Regions from separate parts of the Homo sapiens genome. Here region 2 is linked to region 1. Evidence: promoter capture Hi-C in human tissues and cell types (Jung and others, 2019). All regions are on one chromosome and are shown on one strand. The core of a region is centred on a gene start or on the middle of the fragment in contact, and the rest is flanking DNA. Distances in the headings are between cores, read along the strand shown. Region 1 holds the start of SYT2 (synaptotagmin 2). Region 2 has its middle 35 kb from the start of RABIF.

Evidence for each region. Contacts are between HindIII fragments. The study calls those that stand out against the background at their distance.
Region 2: a fragment that was not itself captured here is called in contact with the fragment with the promoter of SYT2 in region 1 in 2 of the 25 tissues and cell types used here (H1 embryonic stem cells and pancreas).

What each region holds. Positions count from the first base shown.
Region 1 is chr1:202,707,344-202,713,514 of GRCh38, reverse strand. SYT2 (synaptotagmin 2) reads left to right here and starts at 3,061. Exons shown (of 9, transcript NM_177402.5): 1 at 3,061-3,257. The HindIII fragment of the contact is 5,475 bases long and covers 1-4,546 here.
Region 2 is chr1:202,851,416-202,857,586 of GRCh38, reverse strand. It overlaps the pseudogene TUBA5P. Among named protein-coding and RNA genes, the nearest start is that of RABIF, 35 kb to the left of the region's middle. RefSeq lists an enhancer at 4,061-4,560. The HindIII fragment of the contact is 4,898 bases long and covers 755-5,652 here.

The DNA of each region.
Region 1 (6,171 bases), core at 1,812-4,311:
GGCTAGACTTATAGGCGTGAGCCACTTTGCCCAGCTGTAAGTTTTAAAGAACCATTTACTCAGTTACAACCAGTAAAGCAGGCGTGTTTCAGAGGAGAGTTTAGTCATTGTTTGCTTAATTGTCAGGAACAATACAAACTGCTCTGGAAGAATAATACGGGTATGTGCAGGGGGTGGGAGGGCAAGAACAACAGCTTTCTGAAGGGGTGTTTGTTTCTGTGTGTATCAAGAGAAAGCAGGAAATGGGAGCTGGCTAGGTCAGCGGTGATGAAGACTCTCTCTCCTGTCCCAGCTCATTTCTGTTTGCTCTAACTATGACAGCAGGGCTTGGAACAAGTTTGCAGGGATGAAGGCCTGACCAGAACATCAGGGAAACAATCCAAGTGTGAGGTAGTGCAAGTGCTAGTAGACCTATGATCAAGGATGGACAAAAAGGGAATTCTTTAAGCAGAAGGTGGGTGGCAGGCAGGAAAAGTACAGGGGCTTTCAGTCCCCAGGGAAAGCTGTGACAGGGGCACGATGCAGCAGCTCCCTGCTCTCTTCTCTCTCCTCCCTAGAAAAAAACAGAAAATGAAGCCACCAGGAAGCACACTATTCAGCAGAAAGTGGTAAAACAATGTAATTGAGGGAGTTGTAGACTTTCTTCCTGAAAAACGCTCAGTGTTAGATAGCTCTCCCCCACCTTTTGTGGGTTCAAAATGACCTTGTGTGGAAGCAGAGGGATTGCCCTGATGGCCCTGCATGTGCATGCAATTGAGTGATGCTGGTCTAAGATACTAGAGGCTCATCTTTCTACAATGATGAACAGTTGAAAAGCAAAGTATCTAATAATAGGCTGGGTGTGGAGGGGGTGGATGTCTTTTCCATTCTTTCCTCTTCCAGCTCCTGAAGCCTGGGGGAATAAGCAAGAGGGATGTTGAGCTCTTGATTAGGTTTGTAACCCAGACACTACTGGTCCTGATGAATTAAAAGAACATTAAGGCTGTAGCCAGCGACACCACATTTTTCATTTAACCAAATTGATTACAGCTCTGACTCTCCTAATAGCCTGGGAAGGCAGGCTGGCTTCCTCTGACGTGCTTAGGAGAAGAAGCTGGGGCACCAGATTGACACAAGGCTTTGATCAGAACAGTAGGCAGCTGAGTCTGCTGCCGTGGAAAAGTTGAAGCGCATCAGGCCAGTTCGCTTGGCTTGATTCTGTGCGAGGGGGCTGCAGCCCTCTTTCTGGCTGGAGTCCTGCAGATACTGGTTGTTGGCATGGGGAGCAGGAAGGAATGAATAGAGTAGAGCCAGCCCCTTTGGGGAAGCAACAAGTCCTGGAACACACCTGGCTAAGGGTGGGGGTGGTGGGTAACCTCTTTGAATGTAAAGGTCTCATTAGTCCATTGTAACTTGGCTCCCCATTTCCTCCACTGCCCTTGTTCTGGCTGCTCCACAGGTGAAGGGGGAGGGCCTCTGTGCCTCAGGGGCTGTGAGCACAGCTTCAGCCTGATTGAGGACTCCCCAGAGGTCTTCCCCCACCTTTTTCGTAACATCCACTGAGTCGGCAGCCACTTGCCGCCTTGCTCTGAGGCAAGCCAAACTGGGGATAGTCTCCAACTGGGGATGGTCTGCCAGTAACACCTGGTATTATTGGCACAGTGATCTGAAAAGTGCCCTCCACTGCCTCTTCTCTCCCCAAAGCCTGAATCCCACTTGTTCTTTGCATCTCCTCATATTGCATTCATTCCACCTCTCACTCACTCACCTAGTACGTATTGAAGACTGACCTCAGGCCATGTACGGTTTTGTACCCAAAAGCGAGGCAGGATGCTACAGTCCTATTATAAAAGTTAACTCCAGGCCAAGCGCAGTGGCTCATGCTTGTAATCCCAGCACTTTGAGAGGCTGAAGTGGGTGGATCCCTTGAGGTCAGGAGTTCGAGACTAGCCTGGCCAACATGGCAAAACCCCATCTCTACTAAGAATACAAAAATTAGCCGGGTGTGGTGGCGCACGTCTGTAATCCCAGCTGCTCGGGAGGCTGAGGCGGGAGAATCCCTTCAACCCAGGAGGCAGAGGTGGCAGTGAGCCAAGATCGCGCCACTGCACACTGCACTGCAGGTTGGGTAACAGAGTGAGACTTGTCTAAAAAAAAAAGAAAAAAAAAAGTTAACTCCAAAAGAGTTAAAGCGGATATTCAAATTGTGCTGTAAGGAAGTTCTGGTGCTGCCCTGGCAGCTCCTGGGTAGGTTAGGAAGGGCTCTGTTTTGCCCTTGCCACCCTTCTCTTTCTCCCAGGCTCTTCCGAAATGCCACCACTTAACTGTCTGCAGCTCCTTGGTCCAACGCACCATTCAGGGACTGTTTCCCCACCTGCAAACTGCCCACGCAAAATGCCCACCTTAAAGGGATGTCTTACGTATTAAGCAAACTAACATGTGTGAACACCCTGTCTTTAATAACCAGTAGCGTCCTCCTTTTCTTTCTACCGTCTTCCAGCTCCTCTCTCCTTGTCACCCTGCAGTTCTTACTCTCCCCTCCGCTGTTCTATTTCCATAGGCCTCAGGCACCGCTGTCTTCTCTCAAGCATCCTCCTCTCTCTCACCCAACCTTTAGGCTCAGAAGCCCCCACCATCCAGGTGGCCAATATAGGTAGCGGTGACCTAAGCGGAGAGGGGAGGAGGGGAGGCTAGGGGCTCAGGGATCCCAAAATGGCCATGGGGATGGGGGCTCCTGAGCCCAATAATTTAGCCTTGAGCTGCAGTGGGTTCGGGAAGTTGGAGAGAAGGAGCTGGCTAGAAAGGAGACCAGCCTTCTGGGGTGGGGAGTATAGAGCTCCTTTCCAGTCCGCCTTCCTGCTGGGGAAGCAGCCTCCTTGACCTTGAGCAGGAGGCGGGGGCGCCGAGCGCCTGGGGGGCTGCGCAGAAAGAACCCGTCCCGGGGGGCAGGCCCGCCCTCCGCCTCCTCCGGGCCTCCTCCGCCTCGGTCCCCGCCCTCCCACGCCGCTTGGTCTCCTCCCCTCACTGCAGCGCTCGCCGCGCGCGCCCATCGATCAGGCCCCCTCCCTCTGCCGCCTCGGCGCAGACTGCTAAGCTCAGCAAGTCTTGCGGCAAAGGCACTTCGGAGCCGAGTTGGGGCAGCGGTGGAGCGGGGACTTCGCGCCCCCAGGGGAACGGGCGCCCCTGCGAAACCGTCGCCAGCCACGCGTCCTTGCCGTCCGACGCCCCCTCACATTGGAGACCCCGGATCTCTCCCGCCTCCTTCGGGTCGCTCTCCGGTAAGTCCATACCCCCGCCGGTGGGGGCACGGACCTCCCTCTCCAAAGTTTCTCCTTTCCTGCTACTGAGTCGAGGGGCCACGGGGTGGTCTGGGTCCCGAGAGGTGAGTAGGGTTGGGGAAGTTTGAGGCCAAGGGGGCCGGGAGTCTGCCCCGTCCTTTGGGGGAGTTTGGAAGCGTCCGGATGGAAGGTTCGTCTCGGGGAGTCGGACCCGAGGGGCGAGGAGCCGGCTCCTCTGAGGGACTGGGGCTGGGCTGGGGGCAGATTTCCTCCCGCGGGTTGCTGCAGAGAGGGGCGGGCCACGCGTCCCCTGCACCGGCCGGCTCTGCGCCCCCGTCCCTCTCTCCTTTCCCTGGGACGAACCCACTCGCGTCTAGCCCAGCCCCCGCCAGCCCTAGCGGTCTCCAAGGAAGGTTCTTTTGCCCCAGTCTCAAGCTTCGGGGACCCCTGGCACCGCCGTCGTGGGAAGTGGGGCGGGGGGTGGGGTCTGGGCGCTGGGAGCCGGAGACCCTGGGTCAGGGAGAGGTTGGGGAGACAGACTGCAGGGGCCATCTGGAAGCAACGGGCACGAGGAGCTGGGGCAGGGGCCCAAGAAGGGGCTGGAGGCGCCCCTCCCCTCTCTCCAAATCTCATGACTCAGCACGACCTAGGACGCCCCGTCCCTGCTTCAGCTCTGTCCCCAAGGGCTAGGCTCGCAGCCTGGCGGGTGCTGACAGCCCGACTCCCTTTTCTGGACTCTTCCATGTACCTTTCCCATTTGGGGTGCCCCCTTCCCCTGCCTATGCTCCTTCCCCCACCTCTGGGGCACAGGGCTTTTATTTTTCAACTAAAAAGTGGAGCTTTATCGTTTCACATCCCACTAAGCCAGGCCCCCTCATCCTGTCTCCTCCCTTTTCATCCCCACATTCCACAGGTGCCTCCAGGACACCCCCAGCCCATGGCTCGTGGGGTGTCTCCTGGCAGGGCAGTGTCCTCCCTTACCCCTGGCTGAGGTGGCAGAGTAGGTGCTCTCCCCGCAGCAGGAGAAGGGAGTGCAAGGACAGAAGAGGTGCTGGCCCAGGAGGGGCCACTGCAGTGGGGAGGGAAGGGCAGAGGCCCCGTGGGCAGGTAGTACAGGTTGAGTTAGCTTATAAGGAGGAGGAAGTCCTTAGGATCTGGGGGCGCCCAGGAAGCCAGAAAGGTGAACTGGGGTCTGACCTGGAAAGCAAAAGGGTGCCCTTCTCCCTCCCCTACTGCTGCCGCCCTGCGGGGCCTCTCCCAGGTGGAATAGATTGTCCTCCATCCAATCTGTCTGGATCCCCATAACCTGGCACTTCATTAGAGGGGGTGACAGAAGCAGGGAAGCCCTTAATCCTTTCAACCATCTCTCCCTACTTAAGACTAAGTCCAGCTTTGGGGCTGCTAGAAACATCTCTGTGACCAGCAGAGGTGCTGAAAAAAGCCATGCCCAGTGCCCCAAAGGCGGGCCCGAGTGGCAGGTGGAAGGGGGCAGGGTGGCTCTGATGCAGTGGGACGTGCCTGGCATCCTGGTCCTGTGGAATGAGAGTGGTGGTCTGGCAGGCACTGCAAGCTGCAGCGTGTGTCAGGGCCCTGGGGGTGAGTCAGCGTCAGGGGTCCACGCCAGGCACACTGCAGCCTAGGGAGTCCAACTCCAACCCATCTCCTCCCATGCCCCTGGAAAATGGCCAGTGCCCACTGAACCCCGACTGAACCACCTTTCCCTCAGGGTGGCTGCCTCTGCTCTGCTTGGCTGCCAGGCAGATCCCTGGCTTCACCCTCTAGGACTCCCCCCAGAGGCTTGGCTTTTTCTGGAGATCTTTTGGGCTTAATCCTTACCTTCTCCCCTCCTTGTCTTGCCAAAGGAGGAGGAGAGGGAGGCAGAGGAAAGTTTCTAGGTTATAGCCTCACATAGACCTGGCCCACCATTCCCTGGAGGAAGAGAGACCAGACCACTCTGCTGGGAGTCTGCTTTGTTCTGCAGTCCAGGAGCTTGGTCCAGGGAACTTGGGTTTTCTTTTGGGGGAAGGGGGTGATTATGCAGGAACATTTCTTTTTCAGCTTTGGGGTCTGACATCCGCAGAACAGGACCAGGGGAAGCAAAAAGTGTTGGTGTTCGTAAACATTGACTTTTCACCTAGAGAAGCTTGCAACTGGCTTCAATTTAGGACTGAAGCTGGTTTCACCTGGGCAAAGCATGTACCTTGCTGAAGACCTCGCAGGGCCGAGGAGACCCTTTCTGGAGCTGGGTCTGGGCTCACCTGCCCTCACATTGCAGCTGGAGCTCGTTTTATTCCTTCTACCCTTAGGCAGCTTCCAGGCAGGTGTGACAGGGCTGTCTATGATACTGCAGAGACCTGGGGGTGGGCTTTGGAGGTGGCTGGAGAAGCCTCTTCCTTGCCCTTCTCAAGCCCTGGGGACCAGGCTACCCCAGTGTTCCCCAGCCCCTAGGCAAGCCTGACCTCTAGTCATTCTTTCTGCCTCCATCTGAACATTATCATATCTCAATGGGGTCTCCTTTTTCTTCCCCGCCAGGCCTGTGCCGCCCTCTCAGGGGAGAGTAGATAGAGGGGCAGTGAGTGCACTGGAAGCAGGGGGACAGAAGGCAGTGAGGACAGAGTGGGAGGAGGTTGGGCTTCATTTGCCTGGAAGAATGACCATCATTCCCTTCCCTGGACAGAAGCATCCTCGTGGAGGACTTAAGGCTGCAGATGAGTAGAAACACTACTTCACTTGGCTTTGGGATTTGCTCTGTGGACTTCCCCAGTCTAGGCAGGTCCTAGCTGAAGCCAGAGTATCCCCACCACTGAAGGTCCAGGGTGGTGGGGATACTCTTTAAGAACTGGAACAGCAAGTCAGAGGGAGTAATGGGGGGGCAGGGTCACTCAGTGCAGTGGTTAAATATGAAGCACCAAAG
Region 2 (6,171 bases), core at 1,954-4,453, 140 kb before region 1:
GAGGCAACCACAGCCTGTGCTGGTACCTGACATCATTCCTCCAGCCTGTCAGTCCACTCAGCTTCTCTTAAGGGGATATGTGTTTTCTGTCCTGGGTACGGATCTAGGGTTGGAAGCCTGAATAAACTGCTCTGCCTTGAGTTTGTGGACTCAAGCTTCTGCCCTGATGGTTCCTCGCTTTGCCAGGTCTGTCTGATCCAAGCCTTCTTTGACCTTTGATCCATCTCTACAGCAGCTCAGCTTGTTGTTCTTAGACTCCTATGCAGATCTGTCCAGGTGGGAGGGGCTCCTGTTTAGCACTCAACCATTTCACCAGTTCACCCTTCCCCTATCCGAGGCATTGAGAACCACCAGTGAGGCTGCCTGTGAGCCAGGACTTTGGCCCTGTTGCTGTAGGGGGATTGCCTAGACATACTCTCTGCTGCTCGGTAGAGACTGAGGACTTGGAAGTGACCTGAGGAGTAGGATTCTGTGCTCCCTTCCTCAAGAATGAAAATAAAATACCTCCTAGGGGTAGACTTCTTTTATACTGTCACTACCATGTGTCTGGTATAGACTGATGATTTTCTTACCCAAGAAACAGCTGTATCAGCATCACATGGGGTACTTTTTAAAGCTGCAGGTTCCTGGGTTCCAGTCTGAGGTGAGGCCTGGTAATCTGTATGTTCAACAGGATGCCACCACCACTCCCACTCTGCTGTAACTAGGGGGCAGGGCAACAAAACAGAGAGGGCCTGGCTCTCTGAGTGCAAATCATCCGTCCTTCCTCATCCCTACCATTGCGTATGCACAACACTGCCTTTCCAAGTCATCTTTTCCCTAGGAACTCCAAACCTCCTGTAGGTGATCTTTTTTTTTTTTTTCTTTTTTGAGAGAGTTGCTCTGTCGCCTAGGCTGGAATGCCACTAGTGGTGCAGTCACAGCTCACTGCAACCTCTACCTCCTGGGTTCAAGTGGTCCTCCCGCCTCAGCCTCCTGAGTAGCTGGGACTACAGGTGCACACCACAACACCCAGATACTTTTTGTATTTTTTTGTAGAGATGGGGTGTTGCCATCCCAGCACTTTGGTACGCCAAAGTGCTGGGATTACAGGTGTGAACCACCACACCTGGACAGGTGATCTTTTTTCACCTCTATGGAGGCGAAGCAAAAGGACACAAAGGAACTTTCTCGGGGTGATGGGAATTTCTGTATCTCTGTTGGTTTGGTTATATAGGTGTCTACGCATGTCAAATCATTCATTGTATGTCCAAAAGATGCACACACTTAAGTATAAACTATACTTCAAAGTCTTTCTAAAATACAGAAGTGAATGCAAGTATAGTTAGGTAATAGTAGCTTTCAACACAGAAGCTTCCTCAGGAGAAGAGGGTTGGGACGGGTGACATGCCATCTACATCCTTAATGATGTTATTGCCTGCTCCAGACAGACCAGTGCACCATGCTTCAGGGCTTCCTGATCTTCCATAGTTTTGGGGATGGCACTGGCTCAAGTTGGAATTTGCTATCTACCCAGTCCCCCAAGTGTCCATGACAGTTGTAGAACCCTATAACTCTATCTTGACCACCCACACCACCCTGGAGCACTCAGACTGCCTTCATGGTAGACGAGGCCATCTATGATCTCTGCTGCCACAACCTGCGCCCTACCTATACCAACCTGAACTGGCTCATCAGCCAGATTGTGTCCTCCATCACTGCTTCCTTGTGTTTTGATGGTGCCCTCAACGTGGACCTCACAGAGTTCCAGACCAATCTGGTGCCCTACCCTCGCATCCACTTTCCCCTGGTGACCTACTCACCCATTATCTCAGCTAAGAAGGCCTACCATGAGCAGCTCTCAGTGGCAGAGATCTCCAGTGTCTACTTTGAGCCCTCCAATCAGATGGCCAAGTGTGACCCTCGCCACGGCAAGTACATGGCCTGCTGCCTGCTCTACTGTGGAGAAGTGGTGCCCAAGGACGAGAATGCCACCATTGCCACCATTAAAACCAAGCAAATATTTGTTTTGCGGACGTGTCCCACAGGTTTCAAGGCAAGTGGGGGTAAAGGGCAGTTAGCACATGGCCTGTGTACCTGCTAAGACGGGAGCTTCCTGCAGAGGAGGTGTGAGGAACAAATGCACAGGATCTCACTGTCACCCAGGCTGGAGTACACTGGCGTCATCTTGGCTCACTGCAGCCTCGACCTCCTGCACTCAAGCAGTCCTCCTGTCTCAGCCTCCTCAGTAGCTGGGACCACAGGTTTGTGCCACCACACCCTGCTAACTTTGTATTTTTTTGGAGAGGTGGGGCTTCACCATATTGCCCAGGCTGGTCTCAGACTCCTGCGCATGGGTGATCCACCTACAATGGCCTCCCAAAGTGTTACAGGTGTGAGCCACTGTGCCCCGCTAGAGGATTCCTTTAACTGGATAGGTCTCAGCTGGTCTAGAAGCCAGGCCTTTGGACTGTAAGCCAGCGTGGGTTCTACTTGAAAGATTGCCTTGATGAAAGGAAAAGTATCAATTTCATCTTACTTAGCCTGGTAAAAAGGCGTTCCCTAGGGCTGCCAGTCACATGGGGAGAATGGCCTCCTTGTCACTTGTGCTAGGGACATAACCACGTGCTATAGGCTCCTGCTCAGAAGGGAAGGCTTTCAGAAGCCAGAGAGGCCCATTATCAGATGATGGGGAAAGTGCGGATCAGAAGGTCAGAGGCTTCTTGTGTTCTGCGTCTGGATGCGTTCTCTTCCTTTTGCGGTAATAAGGAAGAAGCACGCATTTATGCCCCACCCTGTTATCAGTTGACCTTCCCAGGGTGCTGGGCATATGACCTAGTTTGTTTTTTGGGTTTTGTTGTGGGATAAGACTCCAGAAAGATTAAAGATGGCAGCTGTGGCATTAGAAAACATATATAGCGGCTGGGCGCAGTGGCTCACTTTGGGAGGCCGAGGTGTCCGGATCACAAGGTCAGGAGATGATCGAGACCATCCTGGCTGACACGGTGAAACCCCGTCTCTACTAAAAATACAAAAAAAATTAGCTGGGCATGGCGGCATGCCCCTGTAGTCCCAGCTGTTGGGGAGGCTGAGGCAGGAGAATGGCGTGAACCCGGGAGGCGGAGCTTGCAGTGAGCCAACATCGCGCCACTGCACTCCAGCCTGGGCAACAGAGCAAGACTCCGTCTCAAAAAAATAAAAATAAAAAAAGAAAACATATATAGCTTTCCTGCCCCATGACACTGCTGTGGACATGACCACAACAGGAGGACAGGCAGGAATAATAGCTGCTTGCTAGTGTGGAAGAGTTGTCCTGTAGCTCAGAAATGGAAATGAGGGGTAGGCTATCTGGGAAACAGACTGTTTCTGCCTCCATATTAGGAAGATCTTTAGCTGCTTAAGGGAAGAATAGGCTGCCTTTAGGACATGGTCAGCTTGTTGTCCCTAGAGACACTAATGGGAAGTTGACTTTTTTTTTTTTTTTTTTTTTTTGAGGATGAGAAACACTAAAATGTATTATATATTCTGGGCTGGGTGCAGTGATTCAGGCCTGTAATCCAGCACTTTGGGAGGCAGAGGTGGGAGGATGGCTTGAGCCCAGGAGTTTGAGACCAGCCTGGGCAATGTGAGACTCCATCTGTACAAAATATTTTAAAAAATTAGCCAGTCTTGCTAGTGTGTACTTATAGTTCTAGCTACTCAGAAGGCTGAGGTGGGAGGATCACCTGGGTCCAGGAGGTTTAGGCTGCAGTGAGCTATGATTGCACCCCCCTCTCCAGCCTCAGCAACAGAGCGAGACCCTGTTTTTTGTTTTGTTTTGTTGTTGTTGTTGTTTTGAGACGGAGCTTCACTCTGTCACCCAGGCTGGAGTGCAGTGGCGTGATCTCAGCTCACTGCAACCTCCGCCTCCTGGGTTTAAGCAATTCTCCTGCCCCAGCCTCCCGAGTAGCTGGGACTATAGGCGCCCGCCACCACACCCGGCTATTTTTTGTATTTTTAGTAGAGACAGGGTTTCACCATGTTGGCTAGGCTGGTCTCAAACTCATGACCTCAGGTGATCCACCCGCCTCGGCCTCCCAAAGTGCTGGGATTACAGGCGTGAGCCACCGCATCCGGCCCCCTTTTTCTTGACTGACTTTGAAGGCACTAGTCTTGTCTTGCAGAAGCTCCCTCATTCTAGACTTGTTTGTTTCCTTGTGGTGGTGATCATCTTCCTCTTTGTTTCTTACAAGTTGACAAATGCCCCTTCCCTAGTTCCAGGGATCCCTGTACAGACCCTTCCAGGAAACACAGAACCAGGCGCTTATACTTCTTTGTTTTTTCTTAGGTTGGCATCAACTACCAGTCCCCCACAGTGGTGCCCGGGGGTGCTGTAGCCAAGGTGCAGCGGGCAGTCTGCGTGCTAAACAATACCACAGCCATCACTGAGGCCTGGGCCCGCCTCAACCAAAAGTTTGACCTGATGTATGCCAAGCGGGCATTTATGCACTGTTATGTGGACAGGGGCATGGAGGAAGGTGAGCTCTCTGGGCCTGAGAGGACCTGGCTGCCCTGGAGAAGGATTATGAAGTAGGCACAGAATCTTTGGACAGCGAGGATGAGCATGAGGAGTTCTAGGGGTCCTGGCACCTGTAACACCTGGTCTCTCGCACCACAGTTGTGTGTGTATCTCATTCCACTGTTCCCTGACCCCCTACAAATACAATGGATATTGCAAGCGATGTGGAACTCTGTGGAATTCTGCCCAGGCAGTGGGCCATCTTTAAGCTTCTCAGCTTCCTTTAATGTCTTTCTAAGTTGAAGGGCAGGGTGGCCTCTGCTGCTAGGGCCTCCAGCCAGGGCATGTCTAGTGGAGGATTGGCACTGCTTCCCTCCTGTGTGAGCGGACCACCCTGACACGCCTTCGCCGGTTCAGCACCCAGGCTGTGGTACTTCAACTTCACAGGGGTCCCTATGTGTACCCCCTTGTCTCCAGCCCAGTTCGAGGAAGAGTAAGCTTTCTAGAGATTCTAATGAAAGCTGCCGAAAGTTTATCTGCCCCCAGCATTCCGGGGCAGAAACTGCAGGACTTCAGTGCCACAAGGAATCAAGCACGTCTAACCACTCCTCCCGCCTGATGGCCAAGAGAGGGCAGTAGAGGTTGCCTTCACAGGCCTCTCCGCAGCAGCCATCTTAGACTTGAGGGCTCTGTCCTGATGCCTTACAAACGCAGGGTCCAAGAAATAGGATTCCAAAAAAAACAGTGGTCTCCAGCCTGGGACTATGAAGATACGAAACAACTTACTTTAAGGGACAGGGTCTCGCTGTGTTGCATGCGCTGGAATGTAGTGGTTATTCTCACAGATGTGGTCACAGCATGCTACAGCCTTGGACTCCTGGGCTCAAGCCATCCTCCTGCCTCAGCCTCCCCATGTGGTGGCCTACAGGCACTACCTCATGCCTGGCTATGAAGTAAATCTTAAAAGTGCCTATGAGACTTTTAGGCAAGAAGATCCGTATCTCTTATTCTCAACGGAGTTCCTAATGAGGAAATTAGGAACTGTTGTTTTAGAGGCTTAGGCATATCTGCTCACATGTGGTGTCAGAGATCAATTTATTAGTAAAAGGTTCTGGCAGAAGCTAATGACTAAACAAATGGCCCCTTCTGGAACAGTCCAGGTTCAAGGAGGCTGCTTTTATTATTATTTTATTATTATTTATTTTTTTGGAGACGGAGTCTCACTCTGTCGCCCAGGCTGGAGTGCAGTGGCACGATCTCAGCTCACTGCAACCTCCGCCTTCTGGGTTCAAGCGATTCTCCTACCTCAGCCTCCTGAGTAGCTGGGACTATGGGTGCACACTGCCACTCCTGGCTAATTTTTTGTATTTTAGTGGAGACAGGGTTTCACCATGTTGCCCAGGCTGGTCTCGAACTCCTGAGGTCAGGCAATCTGCCCTCCTCACCCTCCCAAAGTGCTAGGATTACAGGCGTGAGCCACTGTGCCCAGCTATTTTTTTTTTTTTTTTTTTTTGTGAGACAGAGTCTCACTCTCTCTCCCGGGCTGGCATGCAGTGGCGTGATCTCAGCTCACTGCAACCTCTGCCTTCCAGGTTCAAGCAATTCTTCTGCCTCAGCCTCCTGAATAGCTGGGATTACAGGCATGCGCCACCATCCCTGGCTAATTTTTGTATTTGTAGTAGAGATGAGGTTTC